Regions from separate parts of the Homo sapiens genome. Here all the other regions are linked to region 1. The links are contacts of gene promoters, found by promoter capture Hi-C in human tissues and cell types (Jung and others, 2019). All regions are on one chromosome and are shown on one strand. Each heading gives the region's core, a stretch centred on a gene start or on the middle of the fragment in contact. The rest is flanking DNA. Distances are from core to core; before and after follow the strand shown.

Region 1 (3,236 bases), core at 364-2,863:
ATGATATCTGAACTCATATCTTCCAGACTCCAGAGAGACAACTTTTATCGCCAGTATGCAAACAAGGCTGACTCCCTACCAGCTGTGGGGCCCAATGCCTAAACCGTGCCCCTCAGGGAGGGCTGTGGTCTACCCTAGGACTATGAGGAGAATATACTTTAAATAAACACTTTCTAGAAACAAAAGGACATCCCAAGTTCTTGCCAGGAACTCCCAATAATTACATAATTATAAGCCCCTACATTTGAGATCATGGGGCTAGCAGGGGTGTGGGGAGGGACTTCTCACCCTGCCTCAACAACATCTGACCATTGCTGGCGGCATGTGCTGCGCCCTCCCTGCCTAGCTTGCCAAAGGTCATGGCACTCAGCAGCAGGAGGTAGGAGGTCAAGTGGTCCCCACGAAGAGGCCTTTTTTTGACACAGGGTCTCACTCTGTCTGCTGGAATACAGTGGTGTGATCTCGGCTCACTGCAGCCTCGACCTCCCAGGCTCAAGCAATTCTCCCACCTCAGCCTCCTCAGTAGCTGGGACCACAGATGCATGCCACCACACCTGGCTAATTTTTGTATTCCTTGTAGGGACGTTGCCCAGCCTGGTCTCAAACTCCTGGGCTCAAGCAACCTGGCCACCTTGGCTTCCCAAAGTGCTGGGATTACAGGTGTGAGCCACTGTGTCCAGCAGGAAGAGACCTCTTGCTGAAGGGGATGCTCAGGGAGACACATGCCAGAGGAGCAGAAGTCCCACTCCTGCCACACAGCCAGGCCATATCCTGATCCAGCCACCCCCAGCTTCCTCCACAGCCAGCTTCGTCCCACCTCTTGCTCCTCTTGGTGGCATGCTGAGGTCAGGGTGAATGTCAGCTGGCTTCCATGAGCCTGTCTCCCAAAGCAGCCAGATCCTTTCTGATACATGGCTTAGGCAGAAACAGTGAGTGGTCTGCAGGTATCTGAAAAATGCCTAAGGCTGCTGTATCCCATCGTGCAAGCTGTTTACTGCACAAAAGCAGCCAATTGAGAGGGTGAGCGGGGCTGAAATCCAGCCCACGCTCTGCTCACAGAGCCTTGCACCCCAGCTGAAAGGGGCACCTGGAAGTTCATCTGCCTGGAGCGATAACCTCTGATTTGTTCAAAAGATCACTCTCGAACTCTAGGTTCAAACTCTAGGACTCACTCTCAAACTCTAGGTTCAAACTCTAGGACTCACTCTCGAACTCTAGGTTCAAACTCTAGGACTCACTCTCGAACTCTAGGTTAAGAAACCCTAAACAACCAAACCAATCCTTTCCACTTAAGAGTTGACTGCTTGTATCTAAGCGAGCACTTAAAATGACTGAAGGAAGCCCCTTCTGCAGTTGTTTCAGGACACACTGGCCTATTTGGCCCCCTGCCTAGCTCCAGGATTAGGGTCCTGCCTGGACGGGGTAAGAAGCTCACCTTGGCTAAGTAAGAAGCGTAGCCAGATGATCAATAACAACAGCAAACCCACAGGGAGGCAGAACCAGAAAACCAGGAAAGAAAATGTGAGGTCGTTCACCAGCGGCATCAAAGGGTACTTCATGGCGCATGTGTGGCTAAGCTGGGCCAGCCTGGGCTGGGCTGGCAGGGCTGCCCCATGGGACCTGGCAGGCTGGGCCATGCTCTGCTCTCAGCCCAACTGTGACTAAGCTGTGACATAACAAAGAAGTCACAGTGTACTTCAGGCAAAGCATGCAGGGGACACTTTGAGGGAGAGCTGTTCTGGATGAAAGGGTGGGAAGTGAGGCAGTGAGACAGACAGTCTGGCTGAGAATTAAAAAGCCCAGGTTTCCAGGCAGGCCTGGGCTTGAATCTCAGTCCAGTAGCTATTGGGTTCATGACACCCCTCTGACCCTTTTTCTTGTAAGATGGAGATAATTCTGTTAAGTTAGAAAAATAGATGGGACAAAAATTACCCCCAGGATCGGTGTTCATATATCTGAAGTCACAGACCCCCTCCAGGAGCCAGCTGGGTCCCCAGGTCCTGTAATACCAGCTGTGGGTGCCCACGTCCACACTTGGTGGGGGTGCTGGGGACTGCGGCAAACTGGATGCAGCTTACTGCATCCTAAGCATGCAGTGATGGCAGCTCCAACCAATAACTGCTACAAGTGAAATGCAGGTCCATTATTGCAGGACTCCTAACTTTCCCAAGACAGGCAAAAAGTCTGGATTTCTGTGAAATCTCCCAAGTTTAAAATGTCGGATCAGACCTTGTCAAAGCACTGTTGGCTAAACAAAACGTCTGCCAGGCTGGATTGGTCACTGGGCTGCCACTGAAAACTTTTAAAATCTAACACATAGTAGATTATTCTAATTATTACTAGATTAAATGACTATAAATGATTATTACTTAATCTGAAAGCTTGTGCCTCTCCTTATTAGGGTTTTCAGTGAGGGGCTTCTAACGACTTGAATCTTGTTCCTTTATCTCCTGAGTGGCCAGAACACTTCCACATGTCATCCTCATCTTCTCCTATCTGTCATCCGTTCACTCATCAAGTATTCAGTAAACCTCCATGTGCCAGACCATGGCAGAAAGGAGGCTTCGGGCTTCCCACTGGAGTGGCTGCTGCATGGTATTCTCCAAGAGGACCCTTGGACCACCTGCCTGTGACTGCCAGCAGGTGGGTGGGTGCTGGAGTGTATTTATTAAACATGCCAATTCCCAGGCTCACCTTCGTCTCCTCAGACCTCTTGGGGGTGGGGGTGTGGCTTGGGATTCAACACACTGATAAGCAACTAGAATGATTCTGATGCAGGCTTGATTTTGAGACTACAGCATCTCATGACTTAAAAGCACCTGTTGAAAAGGCAAACCAGGTCCAGGCGGGGGAGCAGCTGCAGGAAGGGGGTGGTAAACTTAGGGAAAAACATGGAGTAGAAAACCCCCTTATAGGAAAAGACACCGATTCAAGGAGAAGGGCGCATGGGGCCAGCAACAGGAAAAAATAAGAGCATGGGAGGGGCTGGGAGAGCTGGGGCATGGTTTCAAGAGTCCTAGCCCAGCTGTGGGAAGGCCAGAATTCCTACAAGAGGAAGTCTGGGAAAATGGACTAGAATGAGTGTCCAAGAGGAGCAGTGCTCTGGCAGGGTGCTCCTGATGCAGGGCCCAGAGGCCAAGAGAAGGAGGAGCAGGTGGTCTGGGTTGGGGGTGATTCCCTGGAACTGGGTCCTGAAGGGGCTGCGGTCAGAGAGAGAGCTGAGCAGCATAGCTGGG
Region 2 (3,236 bases), core at 526-3,025, 100 kb after region 1:
TACTCAGGAGGCTGAGGGAGGAGAATCACTTGAACCCAGGAGGTGGAGGCTGCGGTGAGCCGAGGTGGCGTCACTGCACTCCAGCCTGAACAACAAGAGCGAAACTCTGTCTCAAAAATAAAAAATAAAATAAAATAAATAATAATAAAAATAAAAAAATTAGCCGGGTGTGGTGGCGGCTGCCTGTAATCCCAGCTACTCAGGAGGCAGAGGCAGGAGAATAGCTTGAACCTGGGAGGCGAAGGTTGCAGTGAGCTGAGATCACGCCACTGCACTCTAGCCTGGGTGACAGAGCGAGACTCCGTCTCAAAAAAAAAGAAAAACTACTTGAGGTCTTGCTTGAGCACATTGTACCTTTGCATAATTTATCATTTTCAAAGAGCTTTTACATGTTACTTCATTTTATTCCAATAACAACCCTAGAAGGTTAGGTAAGACAGACGTCACTAACCACTAGGTAAGGAAACAAAGTAAAGCTATGACTTGCTCAGGATCACATCAAGTAACAGCGGATCTGGGACAAGAAACTCCACCTCTTGCCTCAAAGTGCAATGCTACTTCCCTTTGTCCTGACTCCATACCTCACCATATGACTTTGGATAAGTCAACTGGCATTTCTCTTTTTGAGACAAGGTCTCACTCTGTCGCCCAGGCTACAGTGCAGTGGCACGATCTCGGCTCACAGCAGCCTCTGCCTCCCAGGCTTAAGTAATCCTCCCACTCAGCCTCCCAAGTAACAGACCACAGGTGTGTGTCACCATGCGCCGCTAATTTTTAGAAAAATTTTTATAGAGACAAAGTCTCATTATGCTGCCCAGGCTGGCCTCAAACTCCTGGGCTCAAGCAATCCTCCCACCTCGGCCTCCCAAAGTGTTAGGTTTACAAGTCAGCCACCGCACTCGGTGACCTGGCATTTCTTTGTCATAGTTTCCTCATCTGTAAAACAGGGAGAATACCTGCAGTGCCTATCTAGAGTGACCTGGGAGAAGGATCAAATAAAGCAACCTAAGTTGACATACTTTGAAATGTACCAATGGAAGGTACACATTATAAGACATGCCTATTTCTCTTGGGAAAAATAGGATACAGGGTGCTAAAACACTGAGCAAATAAATAAACTGTGCTTTTTTTAAGGTGCACCAAATTCATCCATATAACCTCATGATTCATATTGCTGTTGCAGTCCCATTGACCCCATAAGGCAAACATCAATAAAGCTGGCAAAAAAGGAAGGTATTCACCTATGTACCAGATGCTATTAGAGATCCTATCAAACACCTGAATTACAGGAAACAAAGACAGGTTCTGCCTGCATCTCTCCCAAAACATGGAAAATGGTAGTTTTTGGTAAGCTACCCAAAGAACGTTTGAATACCCTGTCTGCCCCCTACCAGCACCACCACAGTTCTCATCTTTTATGCCTGAGACCTTCTCTGAGGCATAAAACAGACCTCTGTCCAATACAGCAGCTATTTCATGTAACTATTTAAATTTTAAAAACTTTTAATTTTAATAGTTTTAAGTTTAAACTATTTGAGTCAAACATCACTTCCTTGGTTACACTAGTCATTTTAAATGCTTACAAGTCACATGTGGCCAGTGGCTACCATATTAGAGCAAGTAAGATTTAGTTCCATGATTGCAGAAAATTCTATTTGACAGAGCTGCTTCAGATACTACACTATTATTTTATTATAACTTTGATTAGACTCCTTGAGGACAGGGGCCGTGTCTTATTTATCTTTGTATTCCCAGTTTATATAGCTAAGTGCATTTCACACACCAAGTACTCACTATCCTCAACTTATTATTTTCAACTGTACCAGGGTGTGAAAGTGATATGCGTTCAGTAAAAACCGTACTCTGATTATCCACATAACCATTGTTTTTCACTTTCAGTACAATATTCAATCAATTACATGAAATATTCAACACTTTATTATAAAATAGGCTTTGTGCTAGACAATTTTGCTCAACTGTACGCTAATGTAAATGTTCTGAGCATGTTTAAGGTAGATGAGGCTAAGCTATTCTGTTCAGTAGGTATATTAAATGCATTTTTGGCTTACGATCTTCTCAACTTTGATAGGTTTATTGGGAAGTAATCCCATCATAAGTCGAGGGGCCTCTAGATATCTAATTGAGTTTCTCAAACATAGCAGATCACTCTCTCCCCTTCCCTATCCCATGCACACACAGACAGGCAAACACAACACAACAATACACAAGACAACCTTTCTCATGGGGAAGGGGTCGGGGGCGAAAGGGGACACCGTCCAGAGGAAGGAGGCCTGCTTTCTAGTCCTGGAGGTGCTAGAAGCTAACCATGTAGCCTTGACCAAGTTACTTTCCGCATCTATAAAAAGTTAGAATGAAACTCCATGCACCTTAATTTTAAAACTTAAATCATCTCGCACCAAAGAAAATCAACTATTCTGCCCAAAAAGTCTTTGCACATGTCAGGAAACACACCTGCTAACACTGATGAGTACCTCGTATTAAACAGAATCCATTTCTAGGTCCCAAGCTATCATGATTAGAGTCACTTTTGTTCTCTGAGCATGTGGAATTTTTCACCTTTACTTTGGGGCACAACTACAGACTTAAACCTTCAGCCTTAAAGATTGAGTTTCTTCCATGTGCTAAAGCAAGAACTGGATACTGTGTCCCTATCTGATCAGACACACAAGGACAAGTTTCTTGAGTATCTGAATTTAACATAAGTTGTCCCATCAGTTTCTATTAGTGCTAAGCCTAAAAACTGACCAAATAATACAAAACGGAACCAAGAAAATTTTTCTATAACAATCCTTATAAAGAATATTTTATGGGCTGGGGACGGTGGCTAATGCCTGTAATCCCAGCACTTTGGGAGGACTAGGCAGGCAGATCACTTAAGGTCAGCAGTTCGACATGAACCTGGCCAACATGGCGAAACCCCCTCTCAACTAAAAATACAAAAAAATTAGCCAGGTGTGGTGGTGGGTGCCTGTAGTCCCAGCTACTCAGGAGGCTGAGGCAGGAGAATCGTTTGAACCCAGGAGGCGGAGGTTGTAGTGAGCTGAGATTGCGCCACTACACTCCAGCCTGGGGGACAGAGCGAGACTGCATCTCAAAAAAAAAAAAAAGAAAAAAAAAATTTTATGAAATGTGTTTTTAATTCAGTCTACATACTTTGTCATGTTTAATTGCTATACAAAAAAAAATCTTTATTGTCCAAAAACCTCCTCATAATG
Region 3 (3,236 bases), core at 461-2,960, 82 kb after region 1:
CCACCTTCGTCAATGATCTTAGCTAGATCATCTGGATCACTTGCTGCAGCTTCTCCATCACACTTGCTGCTTCAGCTTGCACTTTCACGTTATAGACATGGCTTCTTTCCTTAAACCTCATGAACCAACCTCGGCCTCTTCCTAAGCTTTCTTCTACAGCTTCCTCACCTCTCGCAGCCTTCATAGAACTGAAGACAGTTAGGCCTTGCTCTGGATCACGCTTTGGCTTAAGAAAATGTTGTGACTGGTTTGATCTCCTATCTAGCCCACTCAAACTTTCTCCATATCATAAATAAGCCTGTTTTGCTTTCTTATCATTCCTGTGTTCAGTGGTGTAGCATGTTTAATTTCCTTCAAGAACTTTACCTTTGCATTCACACCTTGGCTAACCATTTGGTGCAAGAGGCCTAGCTTTCAGCCTGTTTTGGCTTTCAACACACCTTCCTAATTAAACTTAATCATTTCTAGCTTTTGATTTAAAGTGAGAGACATCCAACTATTCCTTTCACTCGACCACTTTGAGGCCATTATAGAGTTACTAATTGGCCTAATTTCAGTATCATTGTGTCTCAAGAGTGGGAAAGAGACGGAAAACAGCTGGTCAGTGGAGCTGTCAGAACACAAACAACATTGATCAGTTAAGTTCACCATTTTATATAGGTGTAGTACGTGGCACTCTAAAACAATTACAATGGTAATATTAAAGATCACTGATCACAGGTCACCATAACAGTAAAAGTTTGAAATACGCAAGAATTACCAACATATGACAGAGGCACAAAGTGAGCATATGCTGTTGGAAAAATGGCACCCGACAGACTCGCTTGATGCAGGGTTGCCACAACCCTTCAATTTGGAAAAAAAAAAAAACATGGTATCCGTGAAGCTCAATACAGTCAAGTGCAATAAAACAAGGTATGCTTGCATATTAAAATCACGATTGAAATGAAAAAATAAGTCTGAAAAAAATGAACCTAAGAGTGTACTTATAAAACAGCGATGGTATTAAATATAAATGGCAAAAAGGTAAAATTATTATTATAAAAAAACTGCCTACTTTGGTTATAAAGTAGCATGTATAATATGGTCCCATTCCTGTAAAATTATATATAAATATACATGGTAGGATTTCAGGAGAACTTTTCTATTATATCTTTCTATGGTTTGTTTCTTTAAAATAATGATTAGGCATATTTTAATGATCATGCATATTTTAATGATCAAAATAAGAGTGGAATTTTTTTGTGGGGGAAGTAGGGTATAAAATTTATCTGTTTCTCAAGAATACTTGATTATTCTGAAATGTTTTAAACAGGCACTAGCCAAACTGTTATATCTATATTTAAAAAGTGGCTCAATTCTGTATCTAAAGTACAGTAATAACAGACCCAGCCTTTGTTATAATGTATTCCATGAATGCCAGAAAGCTGCCTAAGGTCAGACAGGTGAAGGAAGGCAGGGCAATGACAATAACCTACCTGGAAGTGAGTGCACAAATGACCTTGCTCCACTGCTCCACCACTGCTGGGTGATGCCTCCAGTTAGCCACCATCTCCTTGGCTGTTTTCCAATAAGGAGGTGTTGGGAAGCACCGAGTACAAGCTAGTAACCACACCTCAAAGAGAACACCAATCAACTTCTCTGCTAGATTCTCAGCAATGCCACCTTACCAACAAAAAGAAAACACATCTTTGGCAAACTTATTTTTAAAGCAGAATCTTTAAGACACTGATTTGGGAGAACTGGTCAAAAAATTAAAATAAGTGCAATATTAAGTTTTGACTTTCAAATAATCATTTAATAGTAAAAATGAGAAGCAATTCTTAGGAGTTCCTGTACCCAAAATCACAGACACATCAAAAAATTTTTACTTTGAAAGATTTCAAGTTGCCCTGTTCAGTTCTTATTGAAGGCCTTAATCCTCCAGCAAGGGGGACAGAGGGACACAGGGGAGAAGGAAAAGGATGACTGCCTATGATGACTGACTACTATGAGTCAGTTTCTATGCCAAATAGTTCATACAAATGACCTCATATAATCCTCACATTAATTCTGCAGGGTAGGTATCTGTAATACCTAATACCAACTGCTAATTATACCCATTTTGAAGATGAGAAAACTTAGATTCAGAAAGTTTAAGTAACTTCTCCGACTTCATGCAGCCAGTAAGTGAAGGAATCACAACAAACACCCATGTCTTTTTACCTCCAAACTTTGCCATACAATGCTCCAAGTATTTGAAAGCCACCCTTCAAGGGAGAGAGACAGAGAGACAAATAATGGAGCAAAAGGACTGGTGTTGGGAAGGACAGAGCCTTAACCATGAAAATGGGGCTGTTCCCCTGTTCTAAGCCCTGGAACCAGGTGGAAAAACAGCAGTGGTCTTTACACCGCATAGCTCCAGAAGGCAAAGTTGGGACTCACAGGAAAAGTTGTAAGAATGTGTGTTTCAAATGAGCAAAACCAAAGTTTCAACAACAAAGAGCCCAGGAGGGGGATGAATTGTCTGCCTCATGCTGTTGAGACCCCTGGCATGGGGAGTAAGTAGCAGAGAGGTGATGAATCAATGACTGTCCAGCTATTGTCAATACCAGACAGAGTATTACTATCATTGCATCCCTTCCCACACTGAAATTCCATGCTTCCTTTTAGATATTTCCCTGAATACTGCATCTGTGTGAGAACACAAGCACACTCACATGTGTTAGTCAACAGAGTACACCAATGAATAAGCAACAAGAGAACTTGGAACTAGATGATCAACTTATAGTTTATATACACTGTGCTATATACAAAGCAGGGATTCTGAAATACACTGTAAAGTCTTATAAAACTGGAGGCATTTAATGGCTAGCTAATGAATAGCAAACTGGCACACTTCCAAATAGAACAGTTAAAAGACTTTGGAGGTTTCATTTGCTGAGTAAAATATCTTGTCACTACCAAGTTTTCAGACTCTACTTTGATAACTACTTTGTAATATATTATCTATAGGCTCTAATTTAATTGGTTAATTGTTTCTTTTCTTTTTTTTTTTTTTTTGAGACAGAGTCTTGCTCTTGTCGCCCAGGCTGGAGAGCAGTGGCACGATCTTGGCTCACTACAACCTCCACCTCCCAGGTTCAAGCAATTCTCCTGCCTCAGCCTCCTGAGTAGCTGGAATTATAGGTGTGTGCCACCACGCCTGGCTAATTTTTCTACTTTTAGAAGAGATGGGGTTTCGCCATGTTGGCCAG

The links. The method cuts DNA at HindIII sites, captures the fragments that hold promoters and counts their contacts. A contact is called where the count stands out against the background at its distance.
Region 2: a contact is called between a fragment that was not itself captured here and the fragment with the promoter of ADIG in region 1, in 2 of the 25 tissues and cell types used here (mesendoderm cells and thymus).
Region 3: a fragment that was not itself captured here is called in contact with the fragment with the promoter of ADIG in region 1 in 5 of the 25 tissues and cell types used here (H1 embryonic stem cells, bladder, heart right ventricle and 2 more).

What each region holds. Positions count from the first base shown.
Region 1 is chr20:38,579,574-38,582,809 of GRCh38, reverse strand. It overlaps ADIG (adipogenin), which reads right to left and starts at 1,613. Exons shown (of 3, transcript NM_001393816.1): 1 at 1,436-1,613. The coding sequence starts at 1,559. The HindIII fragment of the contact is 13,860 bases long and covers 1-3,236 here.
Region 2 is chr20:38,475,511-38,478,746 of GRCh38, reverse strand. All of the region lies in intron 1 of RALGAPB (Ral GTPase activating protein non-catalytic subunit beta), which reads right to left. Among named protein-coding and RNA genes, the nearest start is that of RALGAPB, 4.3 kb to the right of the region's middle. The HindIII fragment of the contact is 5,940 bases long and covers 1-3,236 here.
Region 3 is chr20:38,497,876-38,501,111 of GRCh38, reverse strand. RALGAPB (Ral GTPase activating protein non-catalytic subunit beta) reads right to left here. Exons shown (of 30, transcript NM_020336.4): 5 at 1,479-1,665. Among named protein-coding and RNA genes, the nearest start is that of MIR548O2, 17 kb to the left of the region's middle. The HindIII fragment of the contact is 5,600 bases long and covers 1-3,236 here.